2 separate regions of the Homo sapiens genome follow, and region 2 is linked to region 1. Evidence: promoter capture Hi-C in 16 types of primary human blood cells and fetal thymus (Javierre and others, 2016). All regions are on one chromosome and are shown on one strand. The core of a region is centred on a gene start or on the middle of the fragment in contact, and the rest is flanking DNA. Distances in the headings are between cores, read along the strand shown.

Region 1 (4,478 bases), core at 302-2,801:
AAAAGAGAAATTGCAGGAAAGTACAGCTGAAAATCTGGATAAAGTTCTACCTCTACAGGGTGACAGCTGAGCTTTTAAAAAACATTCTGACTTGTCTTGAGAGACCCCTGGCCTTTTTACAAATAGATTTTTGAGAGAATTTGATGTGGACAGAGGGAACCCTGAGAATGCATGTCTTTTTTCCCCTTGTGAATTTACAGAGCAAGGACAGTTCATTTCTCAGTTTTGTCTTTGCAGAGAGAGTGCTGCTTGGAGCCTCATGGTGGACTTCTAGAGATTCAAGTCACAGCCTTAGGCCCCAGTCACAAGTGTGTCCCCAGGCTTTGCCACGTTACTCACAGGCCTCTGGAGCTGAGAACAAGTGCGTGGCACTGAAAAACCTGGGGGAAGGGCCATGAAACTCCATTTTTTCCCCCTTCTCCAACACACAACGACTAAATATGATTTGCCTTTTCTCCACCTTGCACACAACAGATATCTGAAGGCAATTTAGGTCTCAGGGCCTGAAATGAGTTACAGAGTCAAGAGATACAGTCCCAGGCCCCCACAGACTGATGTGGGCTGGTCTTCGCCTGGAGAGGTAGCAACCATCTCTTTGTTCCCACCCACATGAGTAGCCGTTGCAGAAGATAAACCCCTCCCTGAGCCAGGCTGTGGCCAGAGGCTAACCCGGCCCCTGGCTTCGTTTGGAGGGCAGATAACTGAAACCACATAAGGCTTTGGAATCCTGAGAAACAAGAAATCCACCAACGGAGAAGGATTTATCATCTGTTTCCTTTAAGGAGGGTGCAAAGTTGTTCTAACAGTTTCCGTTACAAGGGTACAAACTGGCCGCTCCCCCCAATAGACGGTTTTGTTGAGTTCGCCTCTTTTTTTTTCTTCTTTTTTTGGCCCCACTTCCTATGAGAGAAACTGCTTGGGTGAGGGAGGTGAAAGGAGCCCTGGAGGGTGTTCTCTGAGGTTTTCTTCACCATCCTCATTAGCCACCTGAGGTGGGGCTGAGGACTAAAGTAGGACAGAAGGTCTCTGGTAGATAGAGGAGGGGAAAATCAGGGGGATCCCCCACTTTCTTCACACCCAGGACGCAGGGTGCCGCTGCCGGCCACAGAAACCCCAAGAATGTTTTTCTTTGGCTATTCAGAGGACATCTATTGTGTGTCAGGCCCTGTGCTGAGCTGTTGTTGCCTGACAGCAGGAAGAGCGCGGCTCTGGTTTCTGTGAAGAGGCTGCGGGTCAGCCTCCGACTACAAGAGCCTCGGCCCACACCGGGAACTCAGTGAACGTCAGCGGGAGCTGGGGCAAGAGCACTGACTCTGAGACAGCAGCCTCCGCTCACTATTTGAAGGCGGGGTGGCGGGGGGCCTTGAAGGAGAGCGAAGTGCGAGAGAACTCTTCAGGTGTCACCAAGGTGGGAAGGTGCTACGAGGCGAGGCGCCGAGCGGCGACCCCCATCCCGCTCGCCCGGAGTCAACATGGCCGCCGCGCAGGGAGGCGGGGCTGCTCCAAGTCCGGGCAGGAGCGGGGCGGGGACGCCGTCGGCGGAGCCAGCGCGCAGGCGCGGGCCGCGTGGGCCCCGGATGGAGGAGCTGAGGTTCGGTCCCCGCCGGGGAGGTCGGGACGGGCAGGGGCTGAGGACCCCGCGCCAGCTTGGGAGCCCTGGAGTTCTGGCGGGAGGGAAGCTGTCAAATGGAAGCCGGTAGAAATGAGACAGACGCCCGGAGAAGCGGGGAGCCCCGCCCCTCCGCCATAGCAGCCTCGGGCGCCGCCTCTTCCTTTCCAGCCTCCCGCCCTCGTCTGCTTCCGGCCCTGTGGCCTGGTGGGGCTCTGCAGGCTCCCTCGGGAGTGGTCCTTGGGCCGTGGCCCCTCTGGGGTGAGCGTGGATGATTAGTACCCAGAAGGGACTGTGTCCAAAAGGAGCCGGCCAGAAACGGGTTGCGGACACGGCTGGGCTGACAGAAGGCAGCCCCCACGAGGCCTTTGGCTCTGAGGACCCTGGGTCAGAGCGACTTCTCCAGCCTGCGCAGGGGGTGTTAGTCTTACCCAGAGGGTCCAGAGCTGCCGTTCAACAGGATGTCCCAGATTCTCAGATAGGGCCCAACTACCCTAAGCATACCTAGCAAGGGCAGGCTGCGGCATGGAAGTACTGGGCTAGGCGTTTGGGTGACCTGGGTCATAATCCTGGCTCGGAAAGGGCGCGTACCCTTTGGCGAGGGATGCGGGCTGGTACCGTGAGGTTTAAGAAGCAGAAAACATGACAGCCTCTTTAAGTAGCCCTGGGTACGTCACTTGACCCCAGTGAGCCTCAGTTTCCATATCCATAAAATGGCGATGGTAATTATACTAGCCTCACAGTGTCTGATGAGATCTCTGGAGCCTATTTATCTCACGGGAAAATTTTTGAAGAGTGAAACTAGTTGATCTGTAAGTGTCCTGCCAGTTAAGAGTCTGTGATTTGGCAAAGGGGTTGTTGGGAAGTGAGGTGGGCAATTAGCTGAGAGGGAGAATTGACTAGCTTTGTTTTTACTTGGTTTACCTGTAAGCAAAGTGTGGGCTACACACATCTGTAGTCGCTGAGGCTAGAGCTTGACTCGAGAGAGGAAAGGAAGAATGCAAGCATGGTCAAGTGGCAGAGGTGGGTTAGGTGCTTTTCTGATCCCAGCTTCTCTTCTGCATGCGCGTGGGAAGCCAAGGAAGAGGAAAAAAGAGTGAATTCGCCCTAGGATAGGGAAGGAGTAGCCGCGTGAGGTTGAGTATGCCCATTTCCGTGATTTCTCTCGATTCAGCGAGTCATACGTTGGAAACGTTTAGATTCACAAACTATCGTTACTGTCTGGGGCTTTCAGAAGCTTGCCTTTGAACCGAATTTTCGTGAGCCAACCGGTGTGGAATTGGGGGCCCCTCCCTTCCTCCAGGCCTCCTGGCGATGGAGTAAGCAGCAGGCGCCCCCTTGTGCCAAGGAAAGAGTACTGTTGCCATTGGCCAACTTGGCTCCCTTTCTGGGGAAATTTTATTTTCCTGTGGCTTCTGTGACTTTGTCGTCTTGCTCTTGACATGAGATATGATGGGAAGAATACTTGGGGCACTGATTTCATATCTAGAGTCAGTGAACTGCTGATGCTGTATCCTGTCCCTACCACTTCCATTCATTCAGAACACAGGTTTAAGATGCCTATTTGTGTTCTAGGCCCTGGGATATAGTTGTGATGTAAAGCCCCTGCCCTTAGCAACTTAAATAAGCAATAGCAATAACGGCAATAGGGCAGAATGTAATGAGGGCATAGCACACTGTCTAGTGAGGATCAGAGAATTCCAGAAACAAGTGATACAGGTTTTTTAGGTATTCGCCAGATAAGAGAAGAAAAAGAGTCTTCCAGCCGTCCTCCTTAAATTTCTCAGTTCAAATTTTTTTTTTCCTTTTAGGCATAGTTCTTCATCCCAAATTGATGAGCTGCCTCTGATGCTTTTGCTTTCCTTTCAAATTTCCCAGGCTGGTGTTTGAAAGTTCTTGAGGAGCCTTTATGACTCCTTTTAGCTCAAGGAATTATAAAAGATGCCTTAAGGTGCATTCCCTGCCTCGGAGTGGCTTTGCGATTGTTTATACGTTGCTACCATCCCAACAAAGAGATGGCAAATAACAGTTTTCTCCATCCCTGGTAGTCTACTCTGTCTTCACCCTCAGTTTGTTTCAGCAGTGTGAGCTGGCTGAGGTCCTGCTGAGTGGTGGTTTTCTTTTCCTTCCCCACTTAATTTAACAGACCAGCTGAACACACATCAGAGAGCTAAGCTAGAGTGTGGAGTCATTATGGTCTTCTAGTATGGTTTTATGCCCCACTTTGGGGACTCTGGTTTGGGACCTAGTTTATTATTCTGGGCAAGAGGAAAAGGGCACACGCCAAATAATAGCAACCACAACACAGATTTGAGTAGAACTTCACACTTTGGTCTGTTTCACCATCATGACAATTTTGTGAGATAGGAAAAAAAAAAAGTCTGCTCCCATTTTTTATATAAAGAACTGAGGCTCAGAGGGACTAATGAGAACTTGTAAGTGACAGAGTCAGGAGTTGAACCCAGATCTTTAGTTCCTGCAGAAGTGCATCCAATAGGCTTTAAAAGATTTCTGTGACCTTAGCTTTCCAGCTACTTGCTTAGCTGTATGGAACTTTACCAACGACAGTTCAGGGCTTCACAGTGACACCTACTGAACCCATTTGCTGTCAAGATGCTTTCCCCTCATCTGGGAAGTTAGGTGGTTGGTTAAGTTTGTCATAGTAATTCTGAGAGGGGAGGTTCCAGTGACGAATGCTTTCAAGAATTTGCTTTCACTCGATGTGTGACATTTTCCTCCTTTGGGGTTTAGAGGCCTGAGGGAGCTCAATCCTGGTAGCAACACCCCTGAATTCCTGGTGGTGAAAGGATGTGGCCCCAGGACCCATCCCGGAAGGAGGTGCTGAGGTTTGCAGTCAGCTGCCGTATCC
Region 2 (3,966 bases), core at 659-3,158, 110 kb before region 1:
TCCAGTGTCCACTACTTCAAGAAATGGGCATAAGGTGGCAGCACTGGTAGCACCTGCAGGTGTCTTGGAGAGGAAGCTTGGCCAAGGGCCAGCTGCACTTGAGCTGCTAAGTCCCAGGGAGAAAATGGAAAAAAAGAACTCTGCTAAAGTCCTCCTTACTAGAGTAGTCAGTAACGGGAGGAGAAAGGCTTCTCGTAGGGGAACGACGGTAGTCAGGAACTCCACTGGGAGGAGTGGGTGAGAGGGTCACATTGCTGTCTGGCACCCACACATCTGTTGGAAGAATGCTACCACTTATGAGAAAGGATTGAGACAGGTGAACAACATGGATGAAACTTGAAAACAGTATGCTAAATGAAAGAAACCAGTCACAAAAGACTGCATATTATATGACTCCATTTTTAAAAAATGTCCATGAATACACAAATCTGTAGAAATGGAAAGTAGATATTTTTCTTTCTTTTCTTTTCTTTTTTTTTTTTTTTTTTTTGAGATGGAATCTTACTCTGTTACCCACGCTGGAGTGCAGTCTTGCGATCTCTGCCCATTGCAACCTCTACCTCTTGGGTTCGTGCAATTCTCCTGCCTCAACCTCCCAAGTAATCGAGATTACAGGTGCCTGCCACTAGACCTGGCTAATTTTTGTATTTTCAGTAGAGATGGGGTTTCACCATGTTGGCCGGGCTAGTCTCAAACTTCTGACTTCAGGTGATCTGCCCACCTCGGCCTCCCAAAGTGCTGGGATTACAGGTGTAAGCCATCACCCCTGGCGTACAGAAAGTAGATTAATGGTTGCCTAGGGCTTGAAGCTGGGGAGAATGGGGAGAGGAGGCTAAAGGGTATGGAGTTTCTTTTCAGGATGATGAGATGTTCTAAAATTGATTGTGGTGATGGTTGCATAACTCTGAATATGCTGAAACCATTGAATTGTACAATTTGATGGGTGAATTGTAATTATATTTCAAAGCTGTCATAAAAAATGACTGATGAACATTTATTTAAAAATCAGACAGTAAAGGTTATAATGTGAGTGCATTCTTACCATCTTTCCCCTCCCTGGTCCTATGAATGTGGATGGCCACAATGGGAGTAAGAGGCATCCCTCTTCGTGGAACCACCCATCTTTTTTTTTTTTTTTGAGACAGGGTCTCGCTTTTTTATTCTAGGCTTACTATAGCTTTTACCTCCTGGAATCAAGGGATCTCCCACCTTAGCCTCCTTAGTAACTGGAAGGGAACCACCCATCCTTGAGACAGTGCCTCTCAGCCGGGCGCCATGGCCCACGCCTGTAATCCCAGCCCTTTGGGAGGCCGAGGTGGGCAGATCACGAGGTCAGGAGATTGAGACCATCCTGGCTAATACGGTGAAACCCCGTCTCTACTAAAAATACAAAAAATTAGTTGGGCGTGGTGGCGGGCACCTGTGATCCCAGCTACTTGGAAGGCTGAGGCAGGAGAATGGCGTGAACCCGGGAGGCAGAGGTTGCAGCGAACAGAGATCACACAATTGCACTCCAGCCTGGTGACAGAGTGAGACTCTGTCTCAAAAAAAAAAAAAAAAAAGACCGTGCCTCTCAAACTATTTTATTTTAGAGACCAGGTCTCTATATAACTGTTGGCCAGAGTAGTCTTAAACTCCTGGCCTCAAGCAATCCTTCTGCCTTGACCTCCAAAAGCACTGGAATTACAAGCATGAGCCATCACACCTGGCCAGGCTTCAAACTTTAATTTGCAGAAAAATAACCTGGAATATTGTCAAAATGCAGATTCTGTTTCAGAAGGTCTGAAGTGGGGCCTGAGATTGTGCATTTCTAAGATGCTCCAAGGTGAGGTTTAAACTGCTAATCCTAGGATCACACTCAGAAATGAGAAGCTCTAAGAGACCCAAAGAAATTATATTCTTTGATTGGGATCAGTACACACACACACACACACACACACACACACACACACACACACACAGATGCTTCTACTAACAGTTAATATTAGTACCTTGAAAAAGTACATTTCTAACATTATTGGATTTATTGCACATTTTTATTGAAAACCTCAGAATTCAGAATTTATAAGAGAGCTGAGTTTGAATCCTGACTCCATCATTTACCAGTATTGTAACCTTAAATTACATAATCTATATGAGCCTCAGTTTCTTTGCTTATATAGGACATAATAATGCCTCTTATTGGATTTTTGTGAGTATTAGAGACTATATAGCACACACATAATAGTCACTTGTGAGATAGCTTCTATTATTATTATTATTATTATTATTTGAGACAGGGTCTTGCTCTGTCACTCAGGCTGGAGTGCAATGGTGCAATCATAGCTCACTGTAACCTCGAACTCCTGGGCTCAAGCAGTTCTGCCTCAGTCTCCCCAGTAGCTGGTTCTGCAGGCATGAACCACCATGCTGGGCAAATTTTTTTACTGTGGAGATTAAGTCTGGCTATGTTGCCCAGGCTGGTCTCAAACTCTTGGCCTCAAGCAATCCCCCTGCCTTGGCCTCCCAAATTGCTGGGATTATAGGCACGAGCCACCATGCCTGGCCCAAGATAGCATCTATCAATGTGGCAAAATTTGTGTGAGATGAAGGATCTACCACACTTTCGTTTTCATGTTTATATTACTCCATATTTTCTTTTAAATCTTCTAAATCTCCCAAATCTTCAAATTTTGGTTCTGTAAGAGATGCTTCCCTAAGATATTTTTTCTTCTTTCATTTGAAGACATCACTGTCGTTTAGACCTCTAGTAATATCTATATGGAATATAATTTTTTTCTTTTGTTGAGATGGCATCTTGCTCTGTTACCCAGGCTGGAGTGCAGTGGCAGGATCTGGGCTCACTGCAACCTCTGCCTTCCAGGTTCAAATGATTCTCCTGCCTGAGCCTCCCAAGTAGGTGGGATTACAGGGGCCCATGACCACGCCCGGCTAATTTTTGTATTTTTAGTAGAGATAGGGTTTCTTCATGTTAGCCAGGCTGGTCTTGAACTCCTGATCTAAGGTGATCTGCCCACCTCGGCCTCCCAAAGTGCTGGGATTGCAGGCATGAGCCATCACATCCAGCCTGTATCATTTGGAAGCGATGTATTATTTGGAACCAATCCAAATAAAAGACAACACACACCTATGTGTGGGTGCAGTGGCTCATGCCTGTAATCCCAACACATTGAGAGGGTGAGGCAAGCAGATCACTTGAGGTCAGGAGTTCAAGACCAGCTTGGGCAACATGGCAAAACCCTGTCTCTACAAAACATACAAAAATTAGTCAGGCATGGTGATGTGTGCCTGTAGTTCCAGCTGCTCCAGAGGCTGGGGTGGTAGGAGCACTTGAACCCAGGATGTTGAGGCTACAGTGAGCCAATATCATGTCACTGCACTCCAGCTCGGGCAACAGAGTGAGACCCTGTCTCAAAAAAAAAATAAAAATAAAAATAAAAAAAAGGGCCCAGCTGTAATCCCAGCACTTTGGGAGGCTAAGGCAGGTGGATCACCTGAGGTCAAGACGAGCCTGGCCAACATGGGGAAACCCCATCTCGACTCAAAATGCAAAATTTAGCCAGGCGTGGTGGTGTGCGTCTATAATCCCAGCTCCTCAGGAGGCGGTGGCAAGAGAATCACTTGAACCTGGGAGGTAGAGGTTGCAGTGAGCTGAGATCATGGCACTGCACTCCAGCCTGGGCAACAGAGCAAGAGTCTGTCTCTAAATAAATAAATAAATAAATAAAGTGATTCAAAGTAAAAGCTTAGGCTGTGTGCAGTGGCTCATGCCTGTAACCCCAGCACTTTGGGAGGCCGAGGCAGGTGGATCACTTGAGATCAGGAGCTTGAGACCAGCCTGGCCAACATGGTGAAACCCCGTCTCTACTAAAAATACAAAAAAATTAGTTGGGCGCGGTGGCACCTGCCTGTAGTCCCAGCTACTCAGGAGGCTGAGGCAGGAGAATCACTTGAACTCGGGAGGCA

Evidence for each region. The method cuts DNA at HindIII sites, captures the fragments that hold promoters and counts their contacts. A CHiCAGO score of 5 or more calls a contact.
Region 2: a contact is called between a fragment that was not itself captured here and the fragment with the promoter of PIGV in region 1, in 14 of 17 cell types (endothelial precursors, naive CD4 T cells, total CD8 T cells and 11 more). The highest score is 22.1, in endothelial precursors.

What each region holds. Positions count from the first base shown.
Region 1 is chr1:26,786,399-26,790,876 of GRCh38, forward strand. It overlaps PIGV (phosphatidylinositol glycan anchor biosynthesis class V), which reads left to right and starts at 1,552. Exons shown (of 4, transcript NM_017837.4): 1 at 1,552-1,870; 2 at 4,361-4,478. The coding sequence starts at 4,418. RefSeq lists enhancers at 322-471, 992-1,431, 1,478-2,304, 1,992-2,191, 2,999-3,128 and a silencer at 1,482-1,691. The HindIII fragment of the contact is 3,281 bases long and covers 1-2,844 here.
Region 2 is chr1:26,677,690-26,681,655 of GRCh38, forward strand. No RefSeq gene overlaps it. Among named protein-coding and RNA genes, the nearest start is that of ARID1A, 16 kb to the right of the region's middle. RefSeq lists an enhancer at 252-301. The HindIII fragment of the contact is 3,669 bases long and covers 75-3,743 here.